3 separate regions of the Homo sapiens genome follow, and regions 1 and 3 are each linked to region 2. The links are contacts of gene promoters, found by promoter capture Hi-C in human tissues and cell types (Jung and others, 2019). All regions are on one chromosome and are shown on one strand. The core of a region is centred on a gene start or on the middle of the fragment in contact, and the rest is flanking DNA. Distances in the headings are between cores, read along the strand shown. Region 1 holds the start of SMTNL2 (smoothelin like 2). Region 2 holds the start of C17orf107 (chromosome 17 open reading frame 107). Region 3 overlaps SPNS2-AS1 (SPNS2 antisense RNA 1).

Evidence for each region. The method cuts DNA at HindIII sites, captures the fragments that hold promoters and counts their contacts. A contact is called where the count stands out against the background at its distance.
Region 1: a contact is called between the fragment with the promoter of SMTNL2 here and the fragment with the promoter of C17orf107 in region 2, in 2 of the 25 tissues and cell types used here (lymphoblastoid cells and spleen).
Region 3: a contact is called between a fragment that was not itself captured here and the fragment with the promoter of C17orf107 in region 2, in 1 of the 25 tissues and cell types used here (lymphoblastoid cells).

The regions. Positions count from the first base shown.
Region 1 is chr17:4,582,956-4,586,120 of GRCh38, reverse strand. SMTNL2 (smoothelin like 2) reads right to left here and starts at 1,592. Exons shown (of 8, transcript NM_001114974.2): 1 at 1,117-1,592. The coding sequence starts at 1,515. RefSeq lists enhancers at 1-613, 1,234-1,853, 1,854-2,473. The HindIII fragment of the contact is 15,336 bases long and covers 1-3,165 here.
Region 2 is chr17:4,898,286-4,900,785 of GRCh38, reverse strand. It overlaps C17orf107 (chromosome 17 open reading frame 107), which reads right to left and starts at 1,250. Exons shown (of 3, transcript NM_001145536.2): 1 at 958-1,250; 2 at 641-850; 3 at 1-549. The coding sequence starts at 1,023. The coding sequence ends at 253. It overlaps CHRNE (cholinergic receptor nicotinic epsilon subunit), which reads left to right. Exons shown (of 12, transcript NM_000080.4): 9 at 1,204-1,318; 10 at 1,402-1,588; 11 at 1,679-1,785; 12 at 1,895-2,500. The coding sequence ends at 2,050. RefSeq lists an enhancer at 864-1,173 and silencers at 1,374-1,483, 1,504-1,653. The HindIII fragment of the contact is 33,281 bases long and covers 1-2,500 here.
Region 3 is chr17:4,493,634-4,496,380 of GRCh38, reverse strand. All of the region lies in intron 2 of SPNS2-AS1 (SPNS2 antisense RNA 1), which reads left to right. Among named protein-coding and RNA genes, the nearest start is that of SPNS2-AS1, 3.7 kb to the left of the region's middle. The HindIII fragment of the contact is 5,950 bases long and covers 1-2,747 here.

The DNA.
Region 1 (3,165 bases), core at 343-2,842, 320 kb after region 2:
AGTACTTTCAGCCTTTCTGAGGCTTCCTGCACAGCCCCCACCCCACCCTCATCTGCACCAGTAGCAGCAAGCCCCAGGCCCCCAGCACAAAGCCTTGCTGAGATACCCACTGAGAAGGGGCTAACTACTGTGTTTGGAGCAAAACATCTCTGGCTGCCCAAACTTGGTCTGGGGCCATCTCCCACCCTGGATGGGACCTCCAGGGGGAAGGCCCAATCTGATACCCTCCTCCAGGCCCCCTAGGGTCCAGCCCAGCCCACAGCGGGAAATCTGAGAGCCCCAGGGATTGCACCAAGGAGGGAGCAGGTGCAGGCTACACAGCCCCAGATCCTGGGAACCCAACCCGAGAGCACATGCCTGATCAGGATGGAAAATCCCACCCAAGGGCCACTGCACACACCATGGACACATTCTAACTGCTCTGGGTGGCCCATGCGCAAGGTAGTGACTGGTCCACGTCGGCCTCCGCCCTATCCCCACGTGGTGTGGGCCTCTGGCTAGTCACTGACCCGAGGAATCTAGACACGGCTCAAGGCGGGTTTCCACCTCTCTCCCTTCACGGTAAGGGATTTACCCCCTGCGATGGAGAGTTCCCAAAAGCCGCTGCTGATCGCGTCCCCCTCGACCCCCCTCCCCACCCATCCAGGGGCCTGAGTTCTCAATCTGAGTTAATCAATAACCAGAGCCGTCAGGCCTCAGTGAAGCGGCAACGCAGGGGAGCGTGAATGGAGGGTGGGGGTCAGGCAGGGGTGTCGACCATTCCAACATGCCCCGCGTGGCTCCAGGCAGTGCTGAACAGTCAGGGGCCGGACTTCGGCGCCCAAGCCGTTGATGTCATGGGACAGAGGAGAGAGGGAGACAGGACTCTGAGCAAACAGAGCCTGGCTCTAAAACAGGGCGGAGGACCAAGACAGGTGCAGCTGGCAGGCTCAGCGGTCCTCCCCCCGCCCTCTCCAACTCCGGAGGGGCGGCAGGACCCCCATCACCTAGTCCGAGCGGCCGGTGAAGGCCCCAACCCCGCAGACGCGAGCAGAGGCAGGCAGTCGGGGCGAAGGGGCGGCACCCGGTTCGGAGCCCCACTCCCTGGCGCCAGCGCACGCGCTCCCCCGGGCTCACCTGGCCGCGGCCGGACAGCGAGAAGGTGGCGTGGCTGGCGAAGCGTGCGCTGCCCAGGCGGGGCGCGCGGTCGGGAACCCCGGGCGCGGGCGGGGGGCTGGGCGTGCCGGGAGTGCCGGGCACCGGGGACATCCCGCTGGCCAAGCCCAGCGCCTCCACCTGGCGCGTCAGGCGCTCGAGCTGCGCCTGCAGCCGCTGGTTGTCCCGCTGCAGGTCGGCCACCGTGCGCGCCAGGGGGCCGGCCAGGCGCATCGCCTCTGCCACTCGCCGCTCCACGCCGCGCTGCAGCCCCCGCATGTCCTCGTGCAGCGCGCGCACCGCACCCTCCAGCGCCGCCTCGTAGCGGCCCAGCGCCTCGCGCACAGTGCGCGCCTCCTGGGCGTCGGGGGCCGGCTCCATGGCCCAGCAGAGCGCGCGGGTCGAGAGCGGGCCAGACGGGGGAGAAGATCCGAGCTCCGCAGCTCCGGGCCGCGACTGGCCGTCCGTGGCTGGCTTCGCTCGAGGGGCTGCCGGGGAGGCGGGCGCGGGGCGGGGCCTCGGGGGCGGAGCCGGGGACGACTCCGGGACACCCCCCTGCCCTGGAGCCCAGCGGGACGGTGCGGAGGGAGAGCTCGCCCAGCCTCTCCCCTCCCCGGCTCTTAACTGAGCCCTGCGACCCCGGAGGAGCGGCGTGCGGCCTGCGGGAGGGGCGGCGGGCCCACCCGAAGAAGGCCCTGGCCCCCCTGGACCGTAGAGAGCACACCCGGGCTGACGCGTTCGCTCGGGACTCTCACCCGCAAGGCCCAGGTTCCTCCGGGGGCGGAGACTCCCGGGCTAATGGGGACACCTACAGCTCCCACAGCTGCCGCCCCACTCCGCGGGGCCCTCCCTATGCAGCGGCCACGGCTCTCGCAGGCACACGCTCACCTGTGGGACCTTCGCCTGGAATTTCTTGTATCTGTTCTAAGACCTCAGGGAGGAGACAGGTGGTGAGGTCCCCTCCCTGACTCTGCGACTACGCGCTGTCCCCTCCCAGTCCTACTCTGTATAGCAAGATCTTCGTGCCCTTCCCACTAGTGGTCGGTAGAGGCTCCCGACCCACCAAGGGGCCTCCGTTAGGAGATCCTGGAGAGGCTAAGGGCAGACAGAGAAAGAAGGGTGTGCTGGAGCTGCATCTCCAAATCCTGGAATGGGCGGCTTTGCGACTAATCGCCCCCTCCCGCAATGAGAGTCTCAGTCACTGGCCTCTACCCGTAGGCCAGGGGTCTTACCCCTATTCCTTCTCAATGCTCTTTATGGCTGAACCCAGATAGTTCCCCCTTCCAAATGCACACCCCAAACCATCACCAGAAAAGGGAAGAAGGGAAACAGGTGTTGCTTTAGGACGATGGGATGATGGGCAAAGCTAACTCTAAGTTTTCGCTATATCATAAAGCTGATTTAAAATAAAAATGAGAACATATCCTCCTTTGTGCAAAAAACCTTTCCTAATTGGCCTTCTTTTTCCCAAGCCTGGCCTGCCTGAAAGAGGCCCAGAGGCTGGGCATGCATAGCCAGCTGACCTGCAGGAAGGAGAAGTCTGAAAGGCTTGTTCATATCATGTTCTGCTCCCAAGGTTGTTTGGAGCCCACAAACCCTCCTGGACTGGCCATCATTGCCCCAAAGGAACTGGAGCAGCCTGACAGATGCTAAATGCTGGTTCTCTCCCCCGCCCCCAGCCCCAAGGGGACAGGAAGGAACGCTGGGTTACCTAATCCAAGGAGCCTTCCAGCAATTATTTCATGAAAAAGGCAAATGCCAAAAGGTGTGCATGCTGCATATATGTGTGAGCATGTGTGTGCATTCCAGGTAGCCATCTGGACAGGGTGAGCCAAACTGCTCCCTGAATGCTTTCTCCAGGTGGAATCTTTAGTAGCAGCCTCCAGAGACGCTGCTGCTGCTCTTGCCGCAGACAGCACTCAAAGCCCCTCCAGGTCTCAGCACAAGAACCTGGAGTTCAAAAACCCTGGTCTCAGCCACAGAAGCCCAGTCCCTTCCCTTCTAAGATCCAAGGAAGGACCGTGTGGAGAA
Region 2 (2,500 bases), core at 1-2,500:
CGGAGCCCCCGCGGGGGTGTGGCCAGTGTGAAGGGTGGGGGCGTGGCCAAAACCCAGAGACCCCGGGAAAAGCTCTGGCTGTCTCGCCCCGCCCTGGGCTTTATTCGGACGCTGGGTGGGGCTGGTACGGGGATGGAGTCCCTGGTCCGCCGTCCTCCTCACTGCTGCTGGACGTCACCTGGAGGTCTCCCGAGTAGCTCTCTTGGGGGACAGTCCGGCTCAGTGCCTCCCTAGCCCCGCCGCCTCTGGCCCCTAACTCACCCCGTGTCCTGAGCTCACCGGTTCTCCGGGGATTCCGAGGCCTAGCTGCTGTTGCGACTGTCGCAGGAATGAGGCAGACCCCTGCAGACCCCGTCCACACAGGCATAGCCATGCTCCCTGGACTAGGAGCCGGGCGCTGGCGCCCACCGCAGCCCCAGCTTGCCGAACCCCCTGCCCTGCGGCTTGGGCTACCCGGCTCAGCGCTGCACCCGGATCCCTGCCGTCTGGGGCTGGGCCCGCGCTGCCGTCTAGTCGCCGCGCCTCCTGCTGCAGCCACAGGGCTGAGATCTGCATTGGGGGCACAGGGGTTAGCGGGGAGGCAGAGGTCCTTGTTCCCGCTACCCGATCGCCGCGTATCCTAAGCCCCCCAGTACCCCACCTCTAACAAGGTGGTGCCGAAGCTCACGAGGCTGGCTGTGGCTTCTCTCAACACCAGCCCCAGGGTGGGCTTCGGGGCAGGCAGCATCCCCTGCATCTTCGGTTCGGGTGGCTCCAGGGACTTCAGCTCTCTGAACCTCTGCTCCAGATATTCATGGGCTGCGGCCACGGAGAGTTCCAGGGAAGACAGAAGCGGGGGCTGGAGGGCCACCTGGAGAAGGAGCAGAGCAGTAGAGTAGCAGGGCAGGGGTCACAGGGGCGAACAGGAGACCTACCCAGAAGGTCTCGAGGTGCAGCCCTTGGCGGGCGTAGCCTCACCTCGGTGGAGCTGTGGAAGTGGTAGATCCACATCAGGGTGTCCAGGGAGCTGGGGGTCCCCTTCATGGCCGCCACAAGTGGTAGGACAGGAGAAGGGCTGGGGGACGCGTCTGTCGTCGTGTAGGGGGCGCAGCTGGAGGGCGTAACCAGCCCGTACCAGGAGAAGCCGTGTTTGTGAGGTCAGCGCGCGGCGCCTTCGGTAGCTGGGAGGAGGAACGGTGATGTCATGCCTTCCGGGCTCCTCAGGTTCCTTATTTTCGTCATGGTGGTCGCCACGCTCATTGTCATGAATTGCGTCATCGTGCTCAACGTGTCCCAGCGGACGCCCACCACCCACGCCATGTCCCCGCGGCTGCGCCACGTAAGCGCGGAGGGGGCGGTGCAGCCCGGGTCGGGGTGGGGCTTCGTACTAACCTCGTCCCCTAAGCCCCGCCCCTGCCCCAGGTTCTCCTGGAGCTGCTGCCGCGCCTCCTGGGCTCCCCGCCGCCGCCCGAGGCCCCCCGGGCCGCCTCGCCCCCAAGGCGGGCGTCGTCGGTGGGCTTATTGCTCCGCGCGGAGGAGCTGATACTGAAAAAGCCACGGAGCGAGCTCGTGTTTGAGGGGCAGAGGCACCGGCAGGGGACCTGGACGGGTGAGCACAGTGGCCCTGGCCCGGGGGGCCGCGCGGGGTGCCTGCCAGGGGGGAGGCTCCTAAGGCCCACCCCGGTGTTTTCCCCGCCAGCTGCCTTCTGCCAGAGCCTGGGCGCCGCCGCCCCCGAGGTCCGCTGCTGTGTGGATGCCGTGAACTTCGTGGCCGAGAGCACGAGAGATCAGGAGGCCACCGGCGAGGTGGGACAGGAGCCAGAGGCGGGTGGAGCGAGGCAGAGGCCCACCACTGTCTCCCATGCCGCTGGCTCCTGCAGCTGCCTCTTTACTGACTGTGCCGACCCTTCCCCAGGAAGTGTCCGACTGGGTGCGCATGGGGAATGCCCTTGACAACATCTGCTTCTGGGCCGCTCTGGTGCTCTTCAGCGTGGGCTCCAGCCTCATCTTCCTCGGGGCCTACTTCAACCGAGTGCCTGATCTCCCCTACGCGCCGTGTATCCAGCCTTAGCTCGCACCGACTTCAATTTCCCACCCATCTCCAGTAGGAAATTGATTTTGAAAAAGTAGGCTGCCGCCACCACGGCATTATGATCCCTTCCCCCTGCTGATCAATCTGCAGTTTGTGAACTTCACAAGAATGGTGTGTGCCCGTTCCCTGGCGTGTGTAGGCCTGGCCGCAGTCCAGGGGTCAGCAGGAGGAAAGGGTTCACATAGGCTCTCAGGTGCCAGTCTTCCAGAAAGCAAGGACTGCCCTTCATTCAGCCTTGCTGACCTCCCAGCCTTTCTAAGGCTCAGCCCCACGGGACTCTGGTGGCTGCCAGCTTGTGAGCTATCTATCTATATTCATTTCATAGCCAAACAGGAGACCCCTTTGCAGGACTTGCACACAGGGAGGCTGTAGCCAGGAAACCCTCTTCTTCCCTGGTCTGGCTCTGCTGGAGCGGGTGGGAACCAAACA
Region 3 (2,747 bases), core at 248-2,747, 400 kb after region 2:
GGCGTGGTGGCTCATACCTGTAATGCCAGCACTTTGGGAGGCCGAGGTGGGTGGATCACCTGAGGTCAGGAGTTCGAGACCAGCCTGGCCAACATGGTGAAACCCGGTCTCTACTAAAAATACAAAAATTAGCCAGGCGTGGTGGGGCGCGCCTGTAATCCCAGCTACTTAGGAGGCTGAGGCAGGAGAATTGCTTGAACTTGGGAGGCAGAGGTTGCAGTGAGCCAAGATCATGCCACTGCACTCCAGCCTCGGTGACAGAGTGAGACTCCATCTCAAAAACAAAAACAAAAACAAAAAACAAAAGTGGGGGGAAAAAAAGAAAAGAACACACACAAAAAAGAAAAAAATGGGGCACAGAACATTAATGGCCATTATTCAAAGAGCAGTCATACTTGGGAAGTAGTGGGATAAACACAGAAAAGTAGGTTTCCTTAGGGACTTTTGAGAGCCTTTACTATGAGAATACATGCTCTGAGTCTCCCAGAGGGAGATATAGGATGCCACGTTCCCAGGTGTGTGTGACCACAGAATGTCTTGCAAGACGAGAGCTCTGCAGGACACACTCTGAGAAACACTGGCCTAGAATGCACTTGCTCCTCCTTGGCTGGTAATTGGGAGCTCAGCCCATCTGCCCTCTGCCCATCCTCCCACATGGGAGTGTCTCCAGGGCTCAGGCCTCGGTTGTTTCCCTTCCCCCTTGGCAGCCTCTCACCTAGGCCTGAAATTTACTTTTTTTGAAAAAATTTTTAAGAGGCAGGGTCTCTCTCTGTCACCCAGGCTGGAACGCAGTGGTGCAATCATAGCTCATCATAACTTTGACCTCTTGGGCTCAAGGGATCCTCCTTAAGAAGGGGCTTCCTGATGCTGGGCGCGGTGGCTCATGCCTGTAATCCCAGCACTTTGGGAGGCCAAGGCGAGCAGATCACTTGAGGTCAGGAATTCAAGATCAGCCTAGCCAACATGGAGAAACCCCATCTCTAGTGAAAACACAAAAATTAGCTGGGTGTGGTGGCATGCGCCTGTCATCCCAGCTACTTGGGAGGAGAATTGCTTGAACCCAGGAGGCGGAGGTTGTAGTGAGCCGAGATCACACCACTGCACTCCAGCGTGGGTGACAGAGTGAGACTCTGTCTCAAAACAACAACAACAACAAAAAACAAAAAAACAAAAAACAAAAAAAAGAGAGCCAAGACAGACAGGAGCAAAGACAGAGAAACGGAGACTTTCATATTCCAGCCTGGGTGACAGAGCAAGACTCCATCTCAGGAAGAAAAAAATAATAATAAAAAATAAAAATATATATATAAAAAAGAAGAGTCTTCCTCTCCTGAGGATCCACACCTCAGCTTCCCAAAAGGCTGGGACTATAAGCGTGCACCACCACACCCAGCAATTTTTTTTTTAGGAAAAAGGTCTCACTATGTTGACCAGGCTGGTCTCAAACTCTAGGGCTCAAGTGATCCTCCCACCTCAGCCTACCAAAATGCTGGGGTTAGAGGGGTGAGCACCATGTGCAGCTGTGGCCTCAACTTTCAATGATCATCCATGTGACTATGACACCCCAACCTCCATCTCTAGACAGGGCCTCATCTCCAAACACGAGATCCATATGCAGCCTCCTACACGTGCCCCCCACCAGATATCCCACATGTACCTTAGGCTCAGCACATTTGAAACTGAACTTGTCATCCTTCCCCCAACCTGCTCCCACTCTGGTATCATTTATCTTTTGTCAAAAACACCATCATCCACACTGTCGCCAAGCAGAAAGCCTGGGAGCCATGTGGGGCTCCTTCTCCTCAACAGCCACATCTAAGGGCTTTCAATTTCCTCTCTTGAACATCTCCCCACGTCCACATTGCCCACTGGCTTAGCTCAGGCCTCTCTGTGTCTTACCTGGACCCTTGTAAAGCTCAACATTACCTGTTCCCACATCCCCCTCCAGTTTTGTTTGTTTGTTTTTTGAGACGGAGTCCTGCTCTGTCACCCAGGCTGGAGTGCAATGGCACAATCTCGGCTCACTGCAACCTCTGCCTCCTGGGTTCAAGCAATTCTCCTGCCTCAGCCTCCTGAGTAGCTGGGATTACAGGTGTGCACCACCATGCCCGGCTAATTTTTTTTATTTTTAGTAGAGACGGGGTTTCATCATGTTGGCCAGGCTGGTCTCGAACTCCTGGCCTCAAGTGATCCACCCACCTTGGCATCCCAAAGTGCTGGGATTACAGGCGTGAGCCACTGTGCTCGGCCGGCCCTCCAGTCGTTTCTCCATATTGCTTATCAGTCACTTTCTGAATCCCACAAAGGACCTCATCACTACCTTGAGCAAAACCTTTCTAAGGCTCTTCACTGGCTATAGGGTTAAAAATGTCTACGTTCCTGGCCGGGCGCAGTGACTCACGCCTGTAATCCCAGCACTTCGGGAAGCCGAGGCGGGCGGATCACGAGGTCAGGAGATCGAGACAATCCTGGCTAACATGGTGAAACCCTGTCTCTACTAAAAAATACAAAAAATTAGCTGGGCGTGGTGGTGGGCGCCTGTTGTCCCATCTACTCGGGAGGCTGAGGCAGGAGAATGGCGTGAACCCAGGAGGCGGAGCTTGCAGTGAGCCGAGATCGCGCCACTGCACTCCAGTCTGGGTGACAGAGCGAGACTCTGTTTCAAAAAAAAAAACTACATTCCTTAATGATCTCCAAGAGCCTTCACAACTTTTCACAACCCATGACAATCTCCAGCCTCAGATCCT